Linked DNA regions of Homo sapiens: region 2 is linked to region 1. Evidence: promoter capture Hi-C in 16 types of primary human blood cells and fetal thymus (Javierre and others, 2016). All regions are on one chromosome and are shown on one strand. Each heading gives the region's core, a stretch centred on a gene start or on the middle of the fragment in contact. The rest is flanking DNA. Distances are from core to core; before and after follow the strand shown.

Region 1 (6,979 bases), core at 1,851-4,350:
CACGTTACAGCTGCCAGACTTACAGAGAATTGCAGTTTGGGGGTAATACAGTGATTTTTCTTCCCCATGGCCTCTTGACTCTGTTTTAGTTGGGTGTGACAAGAATGACCCAATTTGTGCGATCAACTTTCACATTCTCCTTCCCAACTCTATGACCGGGACATTGACGACTGTCCATGAGCCAGAAAAAAACTCAAGTACAGGGGCTTTTGCTGCTGTTCAAATCTTCCATAAGGCTAGGAAAATAGCATGCAATCCAACCCACCTAGCCAATTTGCCTTTGCCTTCTTCCATCAGAGGGGTGGCCTTCCAAGTAGGATGTTGTCCATTCATCTAGGAATGACTGTCTACAAACTAAGTAGCTCTTGGTCAGTAAGTAAAGAGCTGTGTATAGGGCAATGTCCAAGTGACCACAGAATCCAGCAGCTCCTCACCCAGTTCCAGACTCAGTCTGAGGGGAACAGAGGCTCCCTGCTCATGAGTGTCTCCTCTTTGCCTTCCTCAGGCACCAGGATCCCATATCAACCATTTCCATTTTTTAGGCTGAGTGAGGTGGCTCACGCCTGTAATCCCAGCACTTTGGGAGGCTGAGGCGGGTGGATCACGAGGTCAAGAGATCGAGACCATCCGGGCCAACATGAAGATCCCTCGTCTCTACTGAAAATTCAAAAATTAGCCAGGCGTGGTGGCATGTGCCTGTAATCCCACCTACTCGGGAGGCTGAGGCAGGAGAATCGCTTGAACCCAGGAGGCAGAGGTTGCAGTGAGCCTGGATCGTGCTGCACTCCAACCTGGCAACAGAGTGAGACTCCATCTCAAAAAAAAAAAATCCATTTTGTAATAGAACTCTTCTGGGACTGGCCTCCCCGTTAGAGCTTTTCCAAGATTCCTGAAGACATCATCAGTTTTTCAGGTTTCAAGATTATTTTATGTCCTTCAGTGACAGGGGAGACTTCAGTTAGTGTTCCATCTCAAGCTAGTAAGTGCCTCTTAAGTGGAAACTTGACTCTAAAGGCCCAGTTCCTTGGAGGTGCTCACAGCCTTTTGCCATTAGCCCTAGTCAGTGCTCCACACAGGGCACAGAGAATGCGTTGTTACCTGCAGTCTGGTTTCTGGTCTATACTGTGTGGTCCACCCTCCAGGGCCAAGGGAGCTAAGGTGCTCTAAGGACTTTCCTGCAGGCCCTGGTGGCTCTGTGTTAATGCTGTCAGTCTTCCTGAAGTCCCTGACCTTTCACCTCCTGCCTGGATCTGCACCCCGCACACATTCCTGACCCCACACATTTCTCATTGCCTGGGTCCTGGCACACATTTCTGACCCTAGCTCAGTGTCTGGGGCCTGGCACACATTTCCGACCCTAGCTCAGTGCCTGGGGCCTGACACACATTTCTGACCCTAGCTCAGTGCCTGGGGCCTGACACACATTTCTGAGTCTAGCTCAGTGCCTGGAACCTGGCACACATTTCTGACCCTAGCTCAGTGCCTGGAACCTGGCGCACATTTCTGACCCTAGCTCAGTGCCTGGGGCCTGACACACATTTCTGACCCTAGCTCAGTGCCTGGGGCCTGACACACATTTCTGAGTCTAGCTCAGTGCCTGAAACCTGGCGCACATTTCTGACCCTAGCTCAGTGCCTGGGACCTGGCACACATTTTTTTTTCTTTTTTTTTTTTTTCACAGAGTCTCGCTCTGTCACCCAGACTGGAGTGCAGTGGCACGAATCTCGGCTCACTGCAACCTCCATTTCCTGGGTTCAAGCAATTCTCCTGCCTCAGCTTCCTGAGTAGCTGGGATTACAAGTGCCCGCCACCACGCCCAGCTAATTTTTGTATTTTTAGTAGAGATGGGGTTTAACTATGTTGGCCAGGCTGGTCTCGAACTCCTGACCTCTTGATTCGCCCACCTCAGCCTCTCAAAGTGCTGGGACTACAAGCGTGAGCAACCGCGCCCGGCCCTGGCTCACATTTCTGACCCTAGGTCATTGTCTGGGCCCTGGAAGGTGCTCAGGGTGATCCATCGCTCAAATCCAAGCCTGTGGAGAGGATGACATTTCATTCCCAGGTTTCTCATGAGCCAAAAAACCTTCATTTCTATAGCGCTATCCTCTTCTATCTACCATGTGAGGGGTCAGGAGCCGACTCATCCCAAGGGTCTAGGAGTCCTGCCATTGACCTTACTGCTTAGGGTCACAAGCTGGCACCCTTCAAAACCACACATTGGGTCTGCCCTCACAGCGGCAGTGTGTTCAACTGGATGGGGAGGTAAGTAGCCCAAGGTCAGACAGTTGGACCTGGGTAGACAATAGACTTGGGGACAGACTTTGGAAGGCACTCCCCTGATTCCCCTGTCTCCATGGGGCCTCAATACTAGAGCCCTCAAGGTTGGTCAGGGAGTGTTTGTGCTTTGACCATGCAAAGGGTGCCAGGTTGTGGCTAGGGATGCCCCCGGCGTTCCTCTCCCTCCTACCTACTCCTCAGCCTCTGCAGGTGCCTGTCATGGCCTCTGTGTCCTTCATTCTGTCCACTCATGTGTTCACTGGGCCCCTCCTTGGTGCCAGGCACCCGCTACTGAGGGATACCAAGCCCCTGCCAGAGAAGCTTGGAGCTGGGTCACAGCAGCAAGGAGGCTGGAGACATCAGTGGCATCAGTGCACTGGTCAGTGAGGCCGCTGTGGGAGGAGGGAGTGGGAGCAGAAGCTAAGAGTGGACTGAAGTCCTGAGGCCAGGAAGTAGTTCAGGGTTTAAGAAGAGGAGAGACAGGCGGCCCGGGGAGGGAGCAGGCTCAGGATGGGCCTCCAGTGCCTCCTCTGGAGCTCACTACCCAGACTACAGCAGCGCAGCGGGCAGCGCCTCAGCTCCTTCCCCTTCTGCTGCCTACAGCCTGGACAGGACCCGGAATCAAACCGCAGGCCCTGGGTCACCGCTGCCGGAAAGAGCCAGTTCCTGTCCGTCCATGCACCCACCCACACAACCTGGGCCCTCCTGGAGGTGCTGGGGGAGACCCAGCCTGAGTGCCTGGAAGTGACTGCGGGAAGGGAGTACAACTGACCACGCCTTTTTTCCGGGGTATAAAAGCGGAGGAGCACGTTCTATTCTGGCAGTGTAGCTGCGAGAACCTTTGCACGCGCACAAACTACGGGGACGATTTCTGATTGATTTTTGGCGCTTTCGATCCACCCTCCTCCCTTCTCATGGGACTTTGGGGACAAAGCGTCCCGACCGCCTCGAGCGCTCGAGCAGGGCGCTATCCAGGAGCCAGGACAGCGTCGGGAACCAGACCATGGCTCCTGGACCCCAAGATCCTTAAGTTCGTCGTCTTCATCGTCGCGGTTCTGCTGCCGGTGAGTCTCCGCCGCGGTCCCTGGCTGGGGAAGAGCGCACCTGGCGCCGGGAGTGGGCAGGGAGAGAGGGGGACACGGTGGGGATGCTTGGCCCGGGTCGCCTGCGGCCGGGCATGTCTGGGCAGGACGAACCCGCCGTCGGAGTCAGGGGAAGAGTGGGGTGCCCGGGCTGGGCAGGAGCGACCGGGCCGCGAGGGAGCAGAGCGCGCGCTCCCCCTGGCTGTCCCGTGCGGCGAGGACCGCACTGAGCTGCCCCAGAGGAAGTTCCAGAATCAGCGGAGGGAGGGAGTCAAGATGGAAACCCCGGAGTGAACCTCAGGAAGCCACAGAGCGGTTGCCTCTTTCGTTCGTTCGTTCGTTCGTTCGTTCATAACGTTAACCCAGGCCGGTCGCGGTGGCTCACGCCTGTAATCCCAGCACGTTGGGAGGCCGAGGCGGGCGGATCACCTGAGGTCAGGAGTTGGAGACCAGCCTAGCCACCATGGTGAAACCCCGTCTCTACTAAAAATACAAAAATTAGCCGGACGTGATGGCGGTCGCCTGTAATCCCAGCTACTCGGGAGGCTGAGGCAGAAGGAGAATCACTTGAATCCGGGAGGCGGAGGTTGCAGTGAGCCGAGATCGCGCCATCGCACTCCAGCCTGGTCAACAAGAGCGAGACTCCGTCTCAAAAAAAAAAAAAAAAAAAAAAAAAAAGTTAGCCAGGCGTGGCAGCCTGCGCCTGTAGTCCCAGCTACTCAGGAGGCTGAGGCAGGAGAACTGCTTGAACCCGGGAGGCAGAGGTTGCAGTGAGCCGAGATTGCACCACTGCACTCCAGCCTGGGCGACAGAGCGAGACTCTGCCTTAACAAAAACAGACAAACAAACAAACAAAATTAACCCTATGTTTACACTGTTACACGTGTTTCTTGGAGATCAGTTTAACAAACAGCCTGTGAAAAAGCTTTCCAACGCTGTTTTTTGTAACTTTCATTTCCTATAGAACCCTGAAAGTGGCAGGAAGCGGTTAACCAAGGTGCTTGCAGTCAGTGTCTTCCACTGCCACCCGTGTGTCCCCTCTGTATCCCATAGGCAGGACCGCGGGATGGCCCCTTCCTTAGGCATAAAAGATGTAAAGTTCTCGTTGTGAGTTGGGTTTGGAAACTGAGATTGGTAGTGGGGTGCACAAGAAGGACATAAAAATAAGATGTGCAGACTGCCAGGACTTTTTCTGAGTGACTGACGTTTCTGCCAACAGTGCTTTCTAAGGTTTCTTACGTAATACCAAAAAACAAAACGGGGAGGATAAAACAAGATTACATGAACCATGAGAGTCTCCATGTTTTCTTTCAACGAAGTAATACTAAATTCAGAACAGCAGTGACATTTTCACCTCTCAAAAATTACACAACTGACTTCTACAATAGTTTATAGTGGGTGGACCTACCTGAGGCAGCTAGAAGAATGGCTGTGTCAGGACAGTGGCCCTGAAGAGAGAATGTGTGGATGACCTGTGTAGACAAGACCAGCAACCTGAATTTCACAGTTTTGGGAATGTGAACTCTATGCGTCCCAAAGGAGGCTTTGATCCCTCCATCAATCTTGCCTTATTAAATGCATTTCAATGCACAGTTGCTTTTTAAAATTTTGGAGCTAGCACAAATCACATTAGATGTTTTATGGCAGTACATTCAGATTGATTTTCTTTTAAACAAGGGTATTGTATTTTACTACATGGGTAAGCCACAGGTTAATTCACTGTTGCCATCTAGAGGCAGCTGGTTATATCCCATCCCGATGGGATATAACCCAAAGCAAATTTGCCTTTGCTAATTCCAACAGCATTGTACTAAATACCCTTGTATGTATCGTGTGTCCACATGTCCATGCGCACCAGCTTATTGGGCAACTCCTTAGAAGTAGAATTTTACTTCTACTTCCGTGGGATAAATCATTTCAGAAGTTTCTTTAGATGTTTACGAATTTTCTTCCAAAAGACCATTGAACTCAGCTTACACTCACACCTAGTTCACACATGTGCCTGTATCCCTACACCCTTGTTACACTTAGCTTTCATTCGTTGCTAGTCTAGGAAGTAAAAGGTGATTCATCACATTGTTATGTACTTTCATTCCTTAATGGTATTAGGAATTTTCAAGGATACGGGAGTTTTGGTAGTGGGAGTAGATGACCGGGGGATCCAGATGAGACAGCAGGGGAGGGTGGCAGGGAAGACTGAATTCCCAGCTGTGAACTTGGAGAACCGTGGTCAGCTGGGGCCAGTCCCTGCCACCTGCCACGCCTGTAAATGGAGATAAGGTCTCCATCTTCAGGCTGTCAGGAGGACATCAGATGAGCCTGGAGCTGAGCTCAGTTCCTGACCCCAGGTCCTGGCTCTGTCAGCGTTGGACTGTTCCAATCTGTGTGACAGAGGCTTCCGCCCCGCCCTTCTCTTTATCAAAGTAGGAATCGAAAAGATCCAACGGCCCAGAATCTCGGACTCTGAGGCTCTCAAGGACTCCTGAGATTGGAGGCTGGGAACAGCTGGGCCCTGCTGTGCTTCCCCTCCAGCTCTGTGACACTGGTGTGGCCCCAGCTCCTGCCTGTAAAGTGAAGAGGAGATAAAAATCTTCAGCAGCCCTGTGTAAACCTCAGAGGGCTGTGTTAGCAGGTGTGGGAGGATGAACCACATCCTCAGGGCTGGTGTCAGTCACTCCGGACTGGATCCCCAGGGCACATGTCCTCCACCCAGCAGAGGCTGCACCTGTTCCTACTTGCACCTCCATACCAGGCTCCCTGGCCTTGGGGCAGAAGCTTCTGAAGACTGGGGTGGAGCACCATGTGGAGGGGCCATCGAGGAACAGAGGAGCCAGAGTTCAAGTGAGGACAGCGATGGCACTGCAGGGCCACAGCCTGGTTTACCTGCCAAGTTTCCAGTTGTGCTTCTGGTGGGTGTCCGGCCCGGGTTGGAGTTTGAAGATGAGCAGGAAAGGTCTCCATCCAGGTGGCTGCAGATGGCTGCTCACCCAGCCCCTACTGAGAGGCCACGGTCCCAGTTCTGGTTCTCTGTCCTGTATCCAGGAGTGGCAGGGTAGCGAGGCTCTAGCTTCCAGGTTGGGGATGGAGACAGTGGGGACAGTGCCATGCCCCGAGCCTGTGCTGTTGGGCAGCTGGTATCCTGCTCCCAGCCAGAGAGTGTACATCTTCGTGTAGTGGATTTTCCTAACAACCAGGGGACATGAGGGCAGGTTGTTTTCCCTGTTTTACAGGTGGCAAAATGAGATTCAGGAGCAATGTCTCCAGCATTTTTGTCCTCACCTTCTGAATAATAGCAGCCATATTTGGGCCTCTGAAGGGCTAGAGTTCTCTGAGGAGCTGCTTCTCTGATCTCTGTCCTGCACTTGGCCTCTGGGAGCTCCTATGGGTCCTCAGCAGAGTCCACAGGGCTCTTCGGAGTCCCCTCCCTGTGCCACAGCCTGGAGCCTGTCCTTAGGTGGTAAGCTGAGGCCGCCACTGCGCTCACCTCATGGGCTTGGGGGGAAAGTGAGTCACCCAGGAAATAGACAATGAGCTCTTTATTGTCTTTGGAGTCTGCTGGAGCCAGGGAGGACAGATGAACCCCATGTGAATCCTGCTTCCTGGAGCCCACAGTGTGGTGG
Region 2 (7,473 bases), core at 3,958-6,457, 170 kb before region 1:
CAGCCTCACTATCTCCCATGCATAGCGCTTTCTAACTGCAGCTTGGGCCGTGTGCCCCTCGGGGTTGCCCAGAGCTCACTGCAGGGCCTGAGGGCACAGGCAGGCCCGCGGCAGGCCTGGCCCATAGTCGCTAAAGAAGTACTGGTTGCCTGGTGTCTCTGCAGCCAGGCCAGTAGGGTAACCCTCTCCTTCCACGCCTCTTTCTTCCCAGAACCTGAATATCCAGGTGGAGGACATTCGGATTCGAGCCATCCTCTCAACCTACCGCAAGCGCACCCCAGTGATGGAGGGCTACGTGGAGGTGAAGGAGGGCAAGACCTGGAAGCAGATCTGTGACAAGCACTGGACGGCCAAGAATTCCCGCGTGGTCTGCGGCATGTTTGGCTTCCCTGGGGAGAGGACATACAATACCAAAGTGTACAAGTAAGAGGACTGCACCAAAGGGGTGGCTTTGAGGGTATCCGCCCTGCCTAAAAGAGTTAAAAGTGTCCGCCCTGGTGGTGGCCTTTCCTTGGCCAGGCATGGCCAGGCAAGCTGGTGTCCCTGCAGGCAGCCTGCACAGAGCCCCTGGGCCGGGCCAGGCGCCAAGTTCAAGGGTGCCCCGTGGCATCCTTACCCTTAAGGAACTCACACATCTACAGGAGATAGACCCTAATCCCTAGAGTAGCTTGTGGGAAGGCGTATTGCAGAAGTGAGATGCAAGCTGCCCCCAGCCCAGAGAACCCCAGCTCAGGGTGCTGCCGGCCAGCTCAGGGACTGCACGAGCTAGGCTAGGGCAATACCCTGGCCAGGCTGGGCACAGACAACACCAACTTAAGAAGAAATATTTACTTGCTCTTGGCAAATGATTCTTCTGAGAAATCTGGAAGTTGCAGCAGGTAATTGAGACACTGGTCCGTGCAGTTCACTTCATCCAATCCCAGTTAAATCTGACAATACTGTGATGATCGCTAAGGTTAATATTTCCCAGTAGGGGAAAGAAGTAGACAGGGACAGAACCTGGAGTCATTTTGACTTAAGGGGTGTCCAGTGGAAGGATTCCAGCACCCCAACAAGCTGATGGCTGGCGTATACTTGGGGTATACTTGGTTGGTCATGGGGTGTTCCTCCCTCCTCTTAATAATGATAGGAATACTGGCTTGGCTTTACCAAAGACTTATAATGTGCCAGGCACTATTCTCAGTCATTTAATCCTCGCACCACCACTGGGAAATAGGAGTCTGTTTTAGAGTTGAGTAAACTGGAGAAAGGTGATAGAACCAGGAAGGGGCAGATCCAGGCCTCACGCACACCCTGGCCTCTGGAGGTCCCCTGTGTCCAGCTATAGGGTCCACACTCTTAGAGGGTGCAGACTCACAGCACTGTCTCTTTCCTTCCAAATCAGAGGAAGAAAAGATGTGGCTTCCATGTCAGGAGACCTGGCTTGAAGCCCCAGCTGTACCCACCAGCTCCCTGGGGTGCCGGGCAGACCACATATCCCTCCCTGATCCTGGCCCAGCCCTGCCTGGACGGGGTGGGCCATAATTTTGTCCCAGCCCCCAGCCCCTCACATGGGTGGGTCAGTGCAGCTGCAGAGCTGCCCATTTGGGTGAGCACACAACACCCCAGGCTGGCCATGATGGTGATTCCAGTCCCCAGACATGGCCCAGACCTTCCTGTTGGCACCAGGAGTCGCCGTCCTCTGAATACTTTGGAGAACTCCCACCCGACTCCTTCCTTGGTGATACCTTCTCAGCTTTTCTTACCAGTCGGAGCCAAGAAAAGCAAACCCCCTCCCTGGCAGGCTTCCTACCTGGCTGGCCCTACCAGTGCCCCCAGCCTGGCTGCTGTTCTAAGCTGGACAGCACGCGCCTTGTTCAGATGGCGTTTGGAAGCCATCTCCCAACCGTGGCCAGTCCAGAGTCCTTCTCGGCTTTTGAGGAGTTGATCTCAGGCCAGTTTCGGCAGCTGGGCCCTGGGTAATCCTGTCACGTGCTGGATTGGAACCCCCATCCTGCCCCTCCCACCCTCTCGTCTGTGGCTTTGCCTTTTCAAGGACGGGGAGGATAAGGCTTCCAAGGCTGAGAGCGATCCAAGGAGGGGGTGGTGGGTGGTGCTGTCTGCAGGATGGGTGATGAAGAACAGAAGCTGCTGGAAACCAGCCCCTCCTGCAGCCTTCTAGCTGGAGAGGTGGGGCTGCCTTCCTAGCAGAGGAGTGGGAAGGGAAGCACGACCTTCTCAGCTTGGCCCTGTCATTTTGTGTTCGTCTCTGGGACTCAGTTGACAGTTAGGCCTACATGTGTCCCAAAGAGAAAGGTGCTGGGAAGGCTTTCTGTGCCTCGGTGGGCTGTCGGGGCTGAGCTGCCAGCAAAGGGCTAGGACTCCTAGGGAATGATAAGGCTCAGAGACCACTGGCCTAAGCCCTGGGTCTGCCTGGAAGAGAACATGGAAGAGGCCTGAAGGGCAGTGGACTCAGGGTGTCACAGCCCACACCCAGCAGAGCCTGCAGGACAGCCCAGGTCTGCTTCAGGGAGAGCACCACCCAGCAGTCTCCACCTGCTGGCCCTGCTGCAGCTCCTCTTCTCCCGGGGGTAGGGCCAGCTCAGAAGCTCTGGCCAGTCTGAGGGTTGTGGCAGGACTGGCCTGGGACTAGGGATATCCATGGGCGCTGCTCAGAAGCTGAGGACTGCAGAGGTCTGGAAGGCAGACTGAGGACCACCACCCTGCCCGGCCCTTGAAGCAGTGGCTTGCAGTTGCATCTTTCCCATGTCCCTTTCCCTCTTCCTACAGCCTGTGGCTGCTGTTGCTGGCAGCACACCTCTGAGGCCCAAGAAGGGACCCCCTTCCCTCCCGCCATGCAGCACTGCCCACTCTGCAGGAAATTATTTTCAAAGTAATTCCCAGTCTGGGGTGGAGTTAGTAATCTCCATGTATCCACCAAGGCCCGTGAAGGACCTTATAGCCTCGGAAGCTCACCTGCTTAACCCCCGAGGGCCCCCCACCTTGGGCCCCCCCACCCCGCTGCTGCCTTACTGGACTGGCTCCCTCTGTGAACCTGCTGGGCTGGTGGCCACTCGGAAGCCTGAGAGCTGCCCCCTGGCCACCAACTGCAGCTCTTCCTCAGCACCTCTGCTTCCCCTAGTGATACGGTTTGGCTGTGTCCCCACCCAAATCTCATCTTGAATTGTGGCTCCCATAACCCCACATGTCGTGGGAGGGACCCAGTGGGAGGTAACTGAATCATGGGTGTGGGTTTTTCCCATGCTGTTCTCATGATAGTGAATAAGTCTCATGAGACCTGATGGTTTTATAAAGGCCAGTTCCCCTGCACACGCTCTCTTGCCTGCTGTCATGTAAGACGTGCCTTTGTTCCTCCTTCACCTTCTGCCATGATGGTGAGGCTTCCCCAGTCACGTGAAACTGTTGAGCTTATTGAACCTCTTTCCTTTATAAATTACCCAGGCTCGGGTATGTCTTTATTAGCAGCATGAGAATGGACTAATACCCTCCAGTTACCTGCACATACCCCAGAGGTCTCTGCAGCCACAGGCTTGCCAAAAGTAGAGTCAGGGGCTCCTCACCAAGGCCTGCTCTCTGATTGGTGTGGCCGTGGCACTGACTTCCACACCGGGCTGGGGTGCAATGCATGTACCTTAAAGCTAATGAAGCTTAAACTTCAGGCCCCCATTCCTGGTGCCAAGAGGGAGCATTTTGTAGTCATAATTTTGTTCTCCCAAAAGTAGGATCCCAATACTGACATCATTTAATTGAAATGAGCTCTCTAAGCAGAGATTCTGCATTTAATGTTGCAGCTGAGGAAGTTAGAAAGGCCTCCAGCGGTTTGCCTGGTTGGTTGGCTGAAATGTGGACCAAAGTGTGGCCCACAGTGAGTGAGTAGAAATGCTGACCCTGCCTCTGTTGTGTGTAGAGGACAGAATTCAAAAGCTTAGGGAGGTTGGATGTTAGAGTGGATCTTACCTTTAAGACCTCCTCACCCACGCTGGGAAGCTCCTGAAGACATGCCTTTCACCTTGATGGTGAGAAGTAAATATATGAAAGGAGCTCCAGCCTCCTTGAGGAGCTGTGATCACTCTTCTCTGAAGGCCAGACCTCACAGCAGGAACAGCAGCCACTGAACCAGTAACCTGAATGCGACCGGAGTAATTGGCTCCAGGGTGGCGGGGGCCCCGTGGCTGTAGTACTACCAAAGGCAAGGTGGACGTGCTGACCCTATTGGACAGTGGAGTCAAAGCAGAAATCAGTCTGACTGCTGCAGACCTGTGGTGTTGGCTGGTTGATCATGATGTTCCTCGAAGTGAAATAGACAGGAAGCCTACTAAGTTCGTACTTAATCTGTATAAGCAGAAAACTTCTAGGTCAAGCAAACAAAAGTCTATCCCAAATCATAAAAGCAGAGTAGAGTCATGACCCCTCAATCCATTCCCGTACTTGAGCCAGTTTTATCAGACTGGAAGCTCTTGAATGAGGGAAAGGCTGGGTACCCTCAAGGAAGCACCCTCGTAGCCTGCCAGAAATCTATACTGTATTCTTTCTCCCAGTTCTCCAAAGACACCTTTCACCAGGATGAGCGTGCATTGGAGAAAAGGAAATAATCAGATCTTTTGGACTACTGGCCACTGGTTCTGAGCTGACAGTAATTCTAGGAGACCCAGAACATCAAAGTGGGGGCTTATGGGTTTTTAGCTTACGTCCATCTGAAACCCATTCTGTGCTATTTCCCCACTTCCGGAAAGCATCATGGAAATAGATGTACTCAGCAGCTGGCAGAATCCCACGGCATCTGCCTTCACTCTTGGCAAGGGGAGCACCGGTCGGTAGGACTCTTGGTTGAATCAGTCCAGCTCCGTGTTCTTCCTACAGTCCAGCTATTGGCCTAGCTGCCTCTTTCACAGGCAGGCTTCCCGCTCCACTCCACTCAAGGCTGCCTCACTCACTCCAGTCACTCCTCCAGTCTCCAGGTCTGGAGCGGGGTGGGCTGTCTTCCACCCTCCGTGGGCCTCCGTCTGCAGCTCAGAGGCCTGTCCCCAGTGAAACACTGGGATGGAGGAGGGGAGGGGAGGGTATCCCCTGGGAGGCCTGAACGTGCTAGAGGGTCTGCAGCACATTCCTGGGGGCTGATGTCAGAGGGATCCGGGCTGCTGGGGACAGTTGTTTGCTGTGGGCTCTGCACTCTTCATTTAGAACGCAGGACATCTGTTCCTGGAGAGGGTGGCGCTCACTGACGGCTGGAAGCAGAGGGGTTTTCCTGAGCCAAGGCAGGCGGTGAGGTCTGACCAATCCTCGAGCAGCTGGTGTTCCCCCGAGTATCTTCTCCCGCCCCTGTGTGGGCGTCATGGAACATGCTGTAAGCTTCCAAGTGCAGGGGCCTTGCAGGAAGTGTGTCTGGAGGGCAGTGGTTCCTGGAATTATTAATAGCCCTCCTGAGCAGTTCTCTGCCCTGGGCTGCCGCTGTGGTGAGCACGCACCCTGAATTTGCCAGGATAGTCCTCAGCAAGATTCCGTGTCATTGTGTTCACAAGCACACTAGAATTGTAACAAGTCTCAGATTTGGGTTAAGGAGAGATGATAACTGTGTCTGTAGGATTTGCCCTTCCTCTGTCTTCACACCCCATTCACTCTGAGACAAAGGAGGTACTTCCAGGGCTGCTGGACCAGCAGGGATGGGACCTCGCCTCTGCCCTGTCTTGGGGTCAGCCTGCCCAGCGAGTACCCTCTGCTGGCTCCTTCTGGCATCTTACTGGGTCCTGCCGTGCAGGGACAAGCACACGGGCCCTGAAAAGCTGGGTCGACATGAGCAGGTAGCAGGGCCTTCCTGGACCTCCTTTGTTTCAGATCCCACCATCATTCAGGGCCCAATTTAAAGGCTTCTCTTCCGTAAAGTCTCCCATCACTCCAACCATGGAATCCCTCCCTCCTGTCACTCTTCTTTTTTTTTCTTTAACAAATACAGTTTTATTTATTTACTTATTTATTTCACAAACTCTTATGTAGCTCTTCCTATCTCTGGGCACTGTTTTAAGTGACAAGTATTAACTCATTTAAACTGTCACAACAGGCCAGGCACTGACGCATGCCTATAATCCCAGCACTTTGGGAGGCAGAGGTGGCCAGATCACCAGAGGTCAGGACTTCGAGACCACCCTGGTCCCAGGAGACCTCAACTTCTCCAGAGTTCTAGCCTCTTCTTAAAGGGCCAGAGTCATGGGAACCCAGATGGGGTGAGGGGGTCTCCTGCCACGGCCTCCTTACAATGATATGACTTGGCATAAATTTGGATACTACCTCCAAATACAGATTTATGGTCTGGCGTGATAGCTCATCCCTGTAATCCCAACGCTTTGGGAGGCCGAGGGAGGCAGATTACCTGAGGTCAGGAGTTCGAGAGCAGCCTGGCAACACGGTGAAACACTGTCTCTACTAAAAATACAAAATTAGCCGGATGTGGTGGCAGGTACCTGTAATCCCAGCTACACGGGAGGCTGAAGCAGGAGAATTCCTTGAACCTGGGAGGTGGAGGTTGCAGTGAGTTAAGATCGCGCCAAAGCACTCCAGCCTGGGCAACAGAGTGAGACTCCATCTCAAAAAAAAAAAAACAACAACAAATAAATAAACTGTCACAATAATCTAGTGAAGCAGATACTACTTCTGATTTTGGACATGAGAAACTGAGGTACAGTATCCTTTTTGGTAGCCAATCTATTACTTATCAGTTGGTTACTGTTTTAGAAAAAAAAAAACTGAATTACCTGCATCTATATTCTGCCTTTAAAAAAAAACATACAAAGGAACACTTTGCACATGTTAACAATACAGGCTAAGGGCTTCCTTAGGATATGGTACAGAGACAAGCTCAACCTCACTGATCTTCCTGGGTGCAGGAAGCAGTAGTTGCATTACCATTATAATTTCTATTGCTAGGCAGATTGTACTTTGATTCAGCAGATGGAGTAATTTAAGACTGTTTTCATTGTTTCTCATTGGAAATACAAATTTAATCTTGTATATCGTTGGGAGAGTTTAGCAATCAGCTTGTACTGCTCATTGACAAAGAAAAATAAAGCTAAAGAATGACAACAGGCTGGGCACAGTGGCCCATGCCTATAATCCCAGCACTTTGGGAGGCCGAGGCAGGCAGATCATTTGAGATCAGGAGTTTGAGACCATCCTGGCCAACATGGCGAAACCCCGTCTCTACTAAAAATACAAAAATTAGCTGGGCGTGGTGGCAGGTACCTGTAGTCCCAGCTACTCAGGAGGCTGAGGCTGCAGAATTGCTTGAATCTGGGAGGCAGAGGTTGCAGTGATTGCACCACTGCACTTCTGCCTGGGGGAATAGAGTGAGACTCTGTCTCAGAAAAAAAAAAGAATGACAACAAATTTTGTTGGAATTATCTGAAGAGTTAGGGTAAACATGGTTTACCTTCGACTGTGAGGGGTTTTCTAGGACCAGGGATCTCACCTGTTTTAAATACC

The links. The method cuts DNA at HindIII sites, captures the fragments that hold promoters and counts their contacts. A CHiCAGO score of 5 or more calls a contact.
Region 2: a contact is called between the fragment with the promoter of LOXL2-AS1 here and the fragment with the promoter of TNFRSF10D in region 1, in 2 of 17 cell types (M0 macrophages and M1 macrophages). The highest score is 5.5, in M0 macrophages.

What each region holds. Positions count from the first base shown.
Region 1 is chr8:23,160,148-23,167,126 of GRCh38, reverse strand. TNFRSF10D (TNF receptor superfamily member 10d) reads left to right here and starts at 3,100. Exons shown (of 9, transcript NM_003840.5): 1 at 3,100-3,341. The coding sequence starts at 3,192. RefSeq lists an enhancer at 3,243-3,362. The HindIII fragment of the contact is 1,686 bases long and covers 2,601-4,286 here.
Region 2 is chr8:23,333,942-23,341,414 of GRCh38, reverse strand. It overlaps LOXL2-AS1 (LOXL2 antisense RNA 1), which reads right to left and starts at 5,207. Exons shown (of 3, transcript NR_038323.1): 1 at 3,958-5,207; 2 at 266-389. It overlaps LOXL2 (lysyl oxidase like 2), which reads left to right. Exons shown (of 14, transcript NM_002318.3): 4 at 212-423. RefSeq lists enhancers at 2,598-3,098, 5,163-5,412. The HindIII fragment of the contact is 1,425 bases long and covers 3,927-5,351 here.